Regions from separate parts of the Homo sapiens genome. Here all the other regions are linked to region 2. Evidence: promoter capture Hi-C in 16 types of primary human blood cells and fetal thymus (Javierre and others, 2016). All regions are on one chromosome and are shown on one strand. Each heading gives the region's core, a stretch centred on a gene start or on the middle of the fragment in contact. The rest is flanking DNA. Distances are from core to core; before and after follow the strand shown. Region 1 holds the start of RETNLB (resistin like beta). Region 2 holds the start of MORC1-AS1 (MORC1 antisense RNA 1). Region 3 overlaps DZIP3 (DAZ interacting zinc finger protein 3).

Region 1 (3,845 bases), core at 1-2,500, 340 kb before region 2:
TGATAAATTCACCTCTCTGTTGGCCCCTACCCATCAAAACAGAGGAATAGATTGGAAAGAGAAATGAAGTATGTGATCATTATGGGACAATGGAGGAGAGGAAGGGCTGAGAAACAGGGGCATGAAGTGAAGGGGTGAAAGGAAGAGGCAGAAGCCCAAGATCCCCCAGTAGCATCCTTCAGGGAAACAAGAATGGGCAAGGGGTCTCTGGGAACCAAGAGTCATGACTCAGCCCCAGGGTGCCAGGGTGATACAGACCTGACATGGGGGAAGACGTAGGTGCAGGGAGATGGACAGGGGAGGATACAGGGCATCGTAGTCGCCATTCCCTCTCAGGGAGTTACTCACCAGCAGGGCAGGAGGACGGTCTGCCTTGGCTTTTGACACTAGCACACGAGAGCTTCTTGCTTATAGGAGAGGGACTGTACTCTGAGTAGGAAAGAAGAAAGGGTACATCCCATGAGCTATCCTCCCCATAATCCCCTTATCCCCTTCCAAATTGTCTTCTACCTTGGAGGTGACACTGTGTCCAGAATCAGCCTACTCATCAGCTTTTAAGGTTAGTTTCCTCATTTTTAAAGCAGAAGTAATAGTTGTCCTTACCTCATAAAATGGTTGTGGGAATTAAATGAAATAATCTACGTAAAACTTGGATTATACCTGGTTCATAATGAGTGTTCATAAATTACAGCTACCATTCTCCTCCACCTCTTCCTCCTCATCAGGAAAACCTCAGCTTTTAGCCAAGACTTCAAACACGGGTAGGGTAGTGTAGAAAGCCCTCATCAGGGGTTGGGCTTGGTTGGGATCTTGGGATGGGATAGAGACAAAGCTAGAGTTTAAGAACAGGAGAAATGAGCAAGGGTCAACCCCCCGCTTCCCCTACCCCAGTCAGTTACCTAGACTGTTGAGAACATCCTTGATCTTCTTATCCATAACGGAGTCTAAGGAACACTGAGTACTCCCCGGGTTGATCAGCTGGAGAAGGGGGATTAGGATGAGAAGGAGGCAAGAGGACGGCCCCATCCTGTACAGAGTCAGTGTCCTGGGGCTGGGAGAAAAGATGGAAAGCAGCTTAGATCTCTGAGCTCCTGGGTGGTGGTGAAGGAAAGAAGACAACGTGGTTAGTTTCCAGGGAGTAAAGATGGAAGAACAGCGTCATCAGTACTGGATCTCTTTAGGCAGTTTGGAGAAGCAGGTAGGGTTGCTGAAGAACAGATTTATTCACCAAAACATTCAGAGAAGGTCTACAAGGACTAGCCAGGCAAGGGCGTTTTAATACACCTGGTATTAACCTGGGCACCTTTAACATACAAGCACACACAAACATGTAAACACACTCCCAGCACACTTTCAAAGACCTGTGCCAGCTAGGGTAACAGGTGACTGTGATAAACTTTGGAGTGTTCATGAGAAGCAACAGCTGCCTTTGCTCTGGATCTCTGCCAAGGGAGTCCTCCTGCCTTTTTGTTCTCCTTCTCCTTTCTTCTTGGCAACCCGATAAGGCTAGCACCTGGGCCTTCTGTGGTCTGCCGGTATTATAGGCTTCTTGTTTGATCCTTCATCAGGAAGAGGTTACTTTGCAGTTAACAAACAAATTAATCCACCCATCATCTATCCCAAACCCAAGTGTATGCTCTTTCTTATCTCTGTTGGCTGAGGGAGGGCCCTACTTGTCACCTGTTCAGACACCATTTTATTGTCCCTGGCCAATCTCATTTGGAGGAAAGTCACAGAAAGACTAATTAATCCTGGATTAAAAATAAGGAAGTTCAGTATTTACTTAACTAGAAGCATGGTTTATGATTCCAGAGTTCTTTTGGGGGCTCATAAAGTTTCCCTTTTTCCCCCACCATTCTCAGCTAATCTTTCGATCTTGTCTCCTCATGGTCACAAGGTAGAAGGTGCCACATCCTCAGCCCAGACCCTGAGCAGGAAGGAAGGAGTGGGGCAAGGCCACTTTCTGTAGGGGCTTTACCTTTTTATTTTAAGAGCAAGATCTTTCTCTAGAAGCTCAAGAAGATTTCCCCTTACATTCCACTGTTTGGTTCTGGGTCACACAACCTCCCTTTCTATCAGCTATGGCTGAAAAAGAGAGCTGGGCTTCACAATTCCTTATCCAAGACCTGGGGCCCAGGTATGTTTCAGAACTCAGAATGTTTCAGATTATGGAAGGTGCAAATTCTGTATATTATGTTAAACCACCAAGGAGGTTGGGGGCAGCACTCTGCAGTCTAATGCATAAATAGCCTGATGCAAAATGTATGAATATTAATGTGGGATAAATAAAAGACCATAAAGAGCCTCACACCAGGCCATGCCAAGTTTTTCTGCCAAATGAGTTAGCCTCAAATTTAGGACAGAACATTTTCATCTTTAGAGCCTTTTAGATTTTAGAATAATGGATAAGGGATTGAGGACTTTGAGGATTCACATATGGCCAAGAGGAATGAGGATGCCATGATTCCTCATCTAGGATGGGGCATGTGGCCACCATGAATAAATAAAATTTAAAGAAGTGCAGATGAAGAAGCAGAGAAAGGGGCCATGTGTTGTGGCTCATGCCCATAATTCCAATACTTTGATAGGCTGAGGCAGGAGGGTCTCTTGAGCACAAGAGTTCAAGACCAGCCTGGGCAACATAGTGAGACTCTATCAAAAAAAAAAAATTTACTGGGAGTGGTACCATGCATTTGTGGTCCCGGCTACTTAGGAGACTGAGGCAGGAGGATCACTTGAGCCTCAAGGTTGCAGTGAGCTGAGATTGTTTCACTGCACTCCAGCCTGGATGACAAAGCAAGACCTTGCCTCAAAAATAAATAAAATAAAATAAAATAAAATGAGAAGCAGAAAAAGGCAGTTAGGTGACTATTCCTTGAGGCAGTCAGAGCTGGAAAGGCTGGGCTCTACCTCTGTGACCAGCCTTTCTGCCCACTTTCCTGGAGATGCCCTCTAATGAACAGCTATTACTTATACATATCTCTCTCAGGCAACTTTGAGAAATGAGGCCTGGAGATGCCAGCAAAAAGGCAAGGATGCTTCCTCAATTACCAGACAGGAGTTGAAGAGAAGAAAAATGAGACTGGAGAATAAGAAAGAGCATACACTTGGATTTGGGATACATGATGGGTTGATTAATTGTTTGCTAATTCAATGAAAATTTGTAGAGCTTCTCTTTACCAGCTCTAGCTCTGCTGACTCAGTGGTGGACAACGTAGACAAGCTCTTTGCCCTTTTGTAATGGGGGAGATAAATACAGTGTATATACATATACTGTATTTATATATATGTATGTATGTGTATATATATATATGTATGTATATATATACATATATATATGTATGTATGTGTATACATACATATGTATGTATGTGTATACATACATATGTATGTATGTGTATACATACATATGTATGTATGTGTATACATACATATGTATGTATGTGTATACATACATATGTATGTATGTGTATACATACATATGTATGTATGTGTATACATACATATGTATGTATGTGTATACATACATATGTATGTATGTGTATACATACATATGTATGTATATATGGTCAAGTATTGAGAAATGCTGTAAAGAAAAATAAGTCAAGACAAGGCAATAGAGTGTGCCACTGTGCTATTGCCCATAATGCAGTATGTTCAGGAAAGGTGTCTCAGAAAAGGTAACAATGACCTGAAGAAGTGAGGGGGTGAGTCACAGGAAAATCTGGGACAAATGTTCTAGCCTGTGGAACAAGTATAAAGAGCCCACGGCAGAGAGTTGGTTAGTGTGTTGAAAGAATGACAACAATGGCAATATGGCCAGAATGAAGTATAGGGGGAAGGCC
Region 2 (3,689 bases), core at 786-3,285:
CTTCTTCGTAAAAAGAATAAAGTCTTTTCCAATTCTCATGGACCCACTATATTAAAAATGAAGAACATCATGTTTTACACCTCAAATACTAAAAAGGAAGAAACAGGCAGACTGTTATCACCGTGTACTGTAACAGGATGTTCTTTCCAACACTCTGTTCTGCTGACCCGTCATCAAGAGGGTACAATTTTTTTTTTTTCAAAGTAAAGCAGAAGAATTTGAACTAAGCCAGCTCCACACTCTTGCTTGAGGTTTGGCTGCAGGGGAAAGGGTCCATTCAGGGCTCAAAAGAACAATCATCTGTCTCAGGTAGGAGCCGTACAAGTGAGCCTCATGTCCTGACCTTTCAATGCAGCATACTAAAACAAAGAGCTGCAGACACAGCACCTAGGTTAAAATATGCTTTGGGAAACAACAGAACATAGAGATGCAACAAAGCACTAAAGTACAGGGGTACCGCTTCAGGAATCTTTGAAAGAGGATTTATTTTATTATTTGGGAGAATTAACCTAAAATGTTGTAAAGATAAAAGTCAGTTATGGGCCGGGCGTGGTGGCTCATGCCTGTAATTCCAGTACTTTGGGAGGCCGAGGCGGGCTGATTACTTGAGGTCAGGAGTTCGAGACTAGCCTGGCCAACATGGTGAAACTCTGTCTCTACAAAAATACAAAAATTAGCTGAGCATGGTGGCTCATGCCTGTAATCCCAGCTGCCCAGGAGGCTGAGGCAGGAGAATCACTTGAACCCAGGAGGCGGAGGTTGCAGTGAGCCAAGATCGCACCACTGCACTCCAGCCAGGGTGACAGAGTGAGAATCTGTCTCAAAAAAAAAAAGTCAGTTTTGTATATGGAGATTCCAACACAAAGTAGGTCACCCCTGCCTCAAGTTTATATATTTTTTAAAGCTTTACATGCCTGCATCATTCTGTGTAAATTGCTTTATAAACAGTGTTCCCAGTATCAATAATATATGTCTTAAGGGAAAAAAAATTCTCACCTTTTAAGACCATTGCCGTATTGCCCTATGAACTTCAAGGTTGACAGCCGTTTTTTGGATCGTCCAAAGTAAATGATGTCTGAAGCTTCCTCTGTAATTGACAGTGACTTTTAAGGTGGTTAGGAAGACTCTTTGACACTGGCCTGAGGCCCAGCTGTCAGGACCTCACATTCCTCAGAACATCAGGACAAACCCATAGCTCTTGGGTCAGCCCAGAGACAAGGATTTTCATCAGAATCCACAGTCTCTGACAAGGGTCTTAATGGTATTACAGTCAGCCCAAGGTACGGCAGGCTCCACATTCATAGACTCAACTAATCTTGGACTGAAAATATTCAGAAAAAAATAAATTGCGTCTGGACTGACCACGTACAGACTTTTTTTTTGTCATTATTCTCTAAACAACAAAGTATAACAACTATTTAATAGCATTTACACTGCATTGGGTATTATAAGGAACCTGGAAAAGATTTAAAGTATACAGGAGGATATATATAGGTTATACGGAAATACCGTGCCATCTTCTTTCCACAGCTTTTGGTATCCTAGAAAGGTCCTGGAATCCATTCCCTACAGATACTAAGAAACAACTGTATACTGAAAGAGATGAGACAGACCTAACCATGTGGCCTTAGGTAGAGTTTAAAAGTCTGAGCCTTAATTTCCATGTGGTGTAAGAGGCAACTACGTAATACTTATATCACGGTGTTGCTGATGAAGATAAATGAAACAAATGAAATGAGATGATGTATTTGTGAAATCCTGAACACAAAACTTGGCACTTGGTGGGTGTTACCAAATTACAAGTGTTATAATTACTTGTACCACTAGTAATTTCCCCACGAATTTAGCCCTTAACCAGGCCCATGTGAGACTAAGAGGGGCAGGATGACCTCTGCTCTGATACTACCTGGGAAAGAAGGCTAACCATTTCAGACGTTCCAAATCATTCTCCCGACCTCTCCAGGTATTCTGGAATTCTAGACAGTAATCCTCTGGACTTCAGAATATATTAATACCAATCTCCAGAACCAAGAATGTTCTTCTTGTTGGCCTACCTGAATACATGCTGAAGAATTGTCCTGAGGACCCTCTGTCAGTCTGGGTACAGATATGCTATAGTTCAGTGGCACATGGTATGAGGTGTGTAAAAGCCACCAAACATTCTGCTTCTCTGAAACTAACTGGACCTCCTATGATATGTTCCTATGAGGGGTTAGGCATTAGGTAAGGATATCCATAATGACAATCTTAGCTAACACTTATTGATTGTTTAGTATATGCTAGGTACTATGTTTATACTTACATGCACAGCTTATTTAATATTTATAACAAAACAAGAAAGGTATTATTACTATGACCTGCATGTCACAGATGAGCAAATGTAAGTCTAAGGAGTTTTAAAAACCTGCCCAAGGTCACAGAGCTGATAGAGGGTACAGCTAGGATTATAACCCAAAGTTCTAAGTCTTGGTACAGACATGGTATAGCTCTGAACCAAATCCCATGTGTTCATTACACACTACATGAACTCACGTGCATGGTTACCCGGTTCTGAGCATGGGAATAAACCACTGAACAGGCCAGGCATGGCTCCTGCCTTGGACAACACTATGTCATGGTAGGAGAAACAGATTGAAAGTAAACTAATAAATAAGATCATTTCTGACTGAGTATTAAGTGAAGAAAACAAAACCAGGGTAATGCGATAGAGAATTAACAGGAACGTGGCCTGCAGACAGAATGATCAGGGAAGGCCACTGGCAGATGGTTAACATGAGATGGATTCAAACGATGAGGGGTCAGCCATGTGTGGGTGGAGTGTTCTAAGGGAGGAAGTGGGAAGAACAAGAAAAGGCCAAAGAGGTGCATAGGGCCAAATAATGTAAGGTCTTGGAAGAGATGCTGAGAGTACAAATTGTATTAAGTAATGGAAAACCACTGAGGGTTTTCAGCAGGAAAATGATATTAATGTACATTTTCAGCAGGAAAATGTACATTAAAAGAAAGAAAATCACTCAGGATGCTGTGTGGGGAATGGACTATAAAGGGGCAAGACTAGAGAATTTTTTAAAAACCCGGAAAGTACTGTAGTCATTTTCTATGGGTCAAGATTGATCTAGCTCCGTTTGAACAACGGATAGATTCTACTTTTAGTCATCTTCCTTCTACTTTATTACTAGTTGATGCTACTATGTAACTGAAGTGTGAGTTCCTTCTGAAGGTCTGAATATCCGTCACTTGTCTGTGTTTCAAACATTTTGTTCATGACCCATATAAAAAGAGTTGCTTCTTTTCATAAGGAATTCCCTTAGAATATATCACATATATTCTGTCATTTATTTTAGGAATTCAAAAAAATGAACTTAATATTCAGGCTAGAAGTGAAAAATTACTTTTTTCAGCATGGGTTTTTTCTGTTGTTGTTACAAACTCTTCTTTCTCATTTAAACAATAAAAGACCAAGAATACTTTTAATCAAAATGACCTGGAAAAATCAAAATTATCCGAAGTCAGAACAAAACTGGGTGAAACAGTCTTTCTAAACTTGCTAATACTCTTCAACTATTCAGACCAAGGGGAAACTTCAGAGCTGAAATAAGATATTTGCCATACCTCATATCTTCAGCTTCTATCAGCAAATCAATATTTGAGCATACTGATGCATCCTTTCCTCAGTTGTGGAACTGACC
Region 3 (3,732 bases), core at 667-3,166, 430 kb before region 2:
TTTTTCGTTTGAAACCATGAAGGCCAGAATGAAGTGGCAGTTTATTCAATTACCGAAAGAAAAGAGCAGAACCATGAATCCTGTATTTAGCAAAAAATATTCTGTAGGAATAGAAGGAAATAAAGACAGTCTCAGACAATGGAAAATTATAAGAATTTATTGCTAGCAAATTCATATATCTTACCGTTAAAGTATGGCTATAGGAAGGTCTCTAAACTTTAAAAATATATATATAGTAGAAGCTTGAGACTTCAGAAAGGAAAGAAGACCATCAGAATGAGTAAAGAGTAAGATAAATAATAAGAAGTTGTCCTAATTAATTTCTTAAATCATATTTGATGGTTGAAGCAAAAATTTTAACACTATCTCGTGGAATTCAATGTATGTAGAAGAAACACCAGTATATTTGAAAAGTGAGGAGGGTAAAGGCACCTAAATGAGAATAAAGCTAGGGATATATCATGCAGATGTTTATTAAAAAAAAGTAAGAATGGCTATATTAAAATCAGATTAAATGGACTTCAGAAGAAAGAAGACTGTTGGACACAAAGAGGGACATTACATAATGATGAAAGGATCAATCCACAAGAACCTCAAGGTATATGTACCAAAAACAGCCTCAAAACACATGAAGTAAAACCTGATAGAGCTGAAAGGAGAAATGGAAAAGTTTACCATTATAATTGAACACTTCAAACTCCACTCTCAATTTATAGTACTACTAAACAGAAAATCAGCAAGGATATAGAAGACCTCAATAACCACCATCAACCAGCAGGACCTAACTGATATTTATAGAACACCCCACCCGACAACAGTAGAATACACATGCTTTCAAGTGACCACAGGATGTATCTACCAAGATAGACAATAACCTGGGCCATAAAACAAACCTCAACAACAAATTTAAGAGTTGAAATCATACAAAGCATGTTCTCAGGTCACAATGGAGTCAAATTAAACATCAGTAACGGAGAGATACCAAGAAACCTCCAAAGGCCTGGAAACTATGCAACCCATGTCTAAATAATCCATGGGTCAAAGAAGAGCTCTCAAGAGAAAATACATTGAATTTACATGAAAATACAATATGTCAAAATTTGTGCCACATAGCTGAGGCAGTGCTGAGATTATAACACTAAATACACACATTAGAAAAAGAGAAAAGTCTTCAGTGGATAATCCAAGCTCTCACTTCAAGATCCCAGAAAAAGAAAATCAAAATAGACTCAAAGCAAGCAGGAGGAAATAAGTTATAAAGATTAGAAATAATGGGAGCAGGATGCAGTGGTGCACACCTGTAGTCCCAGCTACTTGAGAGGCTGAGATGGGAGGATTGCTTGAACCCAGGAGTTACAGTTCAGCATGGGCAACATAGCAAGGCTCCATTTCAAAAAAAAAAGAAACTGAGAAAGAATGAGTTGGAAAAAGAAAAATAGTAGAGAAAATCCATGAAACAAAAAGCTGTGTCTTTGAAAAGGTCAATAAAATTGACAAACCTCTAGCAAGACTGACAATATAAAAGACATAAATTACTACCATCCGGAATGAAACAGTGATATGTATCACTGCAAATACTACAAACACTGCAGACATCAGAAGATTATGCTGATTGAAAAAAGCCAGTTCCAAAAGCTTATATATGTTTCCATTTGCTGAACATTCTTGAAATGACAAAATTATAAAAATGGAAAACAGATTAGTGGTTCCAAGGTTATAAGAAGGGGATGAGAGTGGAAGGGAAGTGGTTGTGGCTTTAAAAGGGCAAAATGAAGGATCCCTGTGGTGATAGAACAGTTCAGTATCTTGACTGTATTACCATCAATATTCTGGTTATGGTATTATACAGTAGTTTTGCAAGATGTTACCATGGGGAGAAATTGGGGAAAGGATACATGGGTTCTTTGTGTATTATTTCTTATACACGCATATGAATTTACAATTATCTTGAAATAAAAAGTTTAACTATTTTAAAAAGTACATAATGAAAAACTGTCAAACAAGAGTATACTTAGTGGAAATTTTGTAGGGTAGAGAGAATATTTTTTTGATTGTTGTGATAAGGAACTTCCTTCAATGAAGAACTTTGTTAAAGACATAGTACTGAACCTAGGCATTGAAGGTTAGGTGGGATGAGATGGAAGAAAAGACAGGGCATCAAGGCAGAATGGACATAATGACTACTCTGTGTTCTCATATAAGCTTTTGAACGTTTTCTTCGTTTAATTCATCTGAACATTGCCCAAGAGTATGTGATAAAATATAAATATTCTTTAATTGTAAATGTTGGCTTCTTTCATCTTAGAATATGGAGATTAGAAAGCAAAAATGGTGTGGTTTTTTGGCCTAATTCAATTTGGTATGTGCAGTAAATGTTTGGCAAATATTTGTTGATGACAGTTGAAGTGTTAACAAAGAAGATTTTATGGAAGTGACTTAACTTTGGATAAACTACAATAAGCAGTTAGTAATATGTCAAGAAACTGCTGTCAACAGTCTATAATAAAACTTGATAGTCAGCTAGAGTTAACTTGAGAACTTTAGATTTTTTAGAAAGAAAATCTAGTAATTTCATTCTGTTATATTAAACATGAGAAAAAGACTGAGAAGTTAAGACTGCCTGAACATACGTAGCTGACTCTTATCTGAGCTGGATAATAAGAACTATGCCTACCTTATCCTCTGTTGTTTAAGAGTCTAGGTGTTCTGAATTCCCCACTAGTTATGTCTACTCTTATTGCCCACTCTAAACTAGAGCTGGGTAAAATATTGAAGTAATGGAAGTATACAAAGGAAAACAAGATGGCAGTCTTACAAATTTTACTGCTTTTCAACTCTGTCAACATATTCCTATATATTACAGTAATGAAGCTTGTATTTCTTAATATTTCACTTGAGAACATGACCTCTTTTGTACAGAAAGAGACCTGGTTTCTTTTCACTGCATTCTCAGACCAACAAAACATTAACTATAAGTCTCTAAGTCTTCTAAGAAGCTTAGAATAAAGGTGAATGGGTAGTCTCTGAAATCTGGTAGTGAGCAATCCATCCAACATTAAAGTCGTCATTTCAAAGATGTATTATTCCAACCAAAACTCTTCCATTTATCCCAAGAATTTCAACATATTAGAGACTTAAAGAGAAATGTGCTTTTATTATAAATCTTTTCATATTGAAGTTAATTACTAGGTTTATGTAAAAGCTTGCTTGTGAAAAGAAATACAGCAGCATAAGGGAGGAACATCAGAAATCTGGTATGTGAATATATGTCAACCAAAAAGTATATGCGTTTCTCTTAGTTTCTTACATATTAATTTTGAAGCTGATCACAGGCTATAGATTCTGATTTATACAAAATTTTTACCCATTCTTTCCATGATAAGATCATGTGAGTGACCCCCAGGTGATAATTCATAGTTTTAATTAAAATTTGCATTTGTACACAGCCTCATCACTTCAATATTTAAGGTTTGATTTCCTTTAGACCTTAAATCTTTCATAATTTGCATGACTTGATATAATACCACTTTAAGGAACTTAAAGTTCTCAATCTCACAACAGGCTTAGAAAATCAGAAGATACCATCTCTGTTTTCTAGTAGGTAAGCTGAAGCATGAAGAGCTAGAGACATTTTTCCAAGTCATTGCACTGAGATGCAAGATAACACTTCTCTTTTGCTTTCTAATTTACTGAATTAGAACTTAGTTCCCCTTTCTTTGGGAAGTCAGTAAA

What was found. The method cuts DNA at HindIII sites, captures the fragments that hold promoters and counts their contacts. A CHiCAGO score of 5 or more calls a contact.
Region 1: the fragment with the promoter of RETNLB here is called in contact with the fragment with the promoter of MORC1-AS1 in region 2 in 4 of 17 cell types (neutrophils, naive CD8 T cells, M2 macrophages and 1 more); the score reaches 8.8 in neutrophils.
Region 3: a contact is called between a fragment that was not itself captured here and the fragment with the promoter of MORC1-AS1 in region 2, in 2 of 17 cell types (erythroblasts and megakaryocytes). The highest score is 5.1, in erythroblasts.

Annotation. Positions count from the first base shown.
Region 1 is chr3:108,756,160-108,760,004 of GRCh38, forward strand. RETNLB (resistin like beta) reads right to left here and starts at 1,251. Exons shown (of 3, transcript NM_032579.3): 1 at 900-1,251; 2 at 349-429. The coding sequence starts at 1,026. The HindIII fragment of the contact is 7,429 bases long and covers 1-3,845 here.
Region 2 is chr3:109,099,421-109,103,109 of GRCh38, forward strand. MORC1-AS1 (MORC1 antisense RNA 1) reads left to right here and starts at 2,036. Exons shown (of 3, transcript NR_144461.1): 1 at 2,036-2,139. It overlaps MORC1 (MORC family CW-type zinc finger 1), which reads right to left. Exons shown (of 28, transcript NM_014429.4): 5 at 997-1,087; 6 at 1-46. The HindIII fragment of the contact is 2,885 bases long and covers 1,080-3,689 here.
Region 3 is chr3:108,665,762-108,669,493 of GRCh38, forward strand. All of the region lies in intron 21 of DZIP3 (DAZ interacting zinc finger protein 3), which reads left to right. Among named protein-coding and RNA genes, the nearest start is that of DZIP3, 78 kb to the left of the region's middle. The HindIII fragment of the contact is 567 bases long and covers 1,634-2,200 here.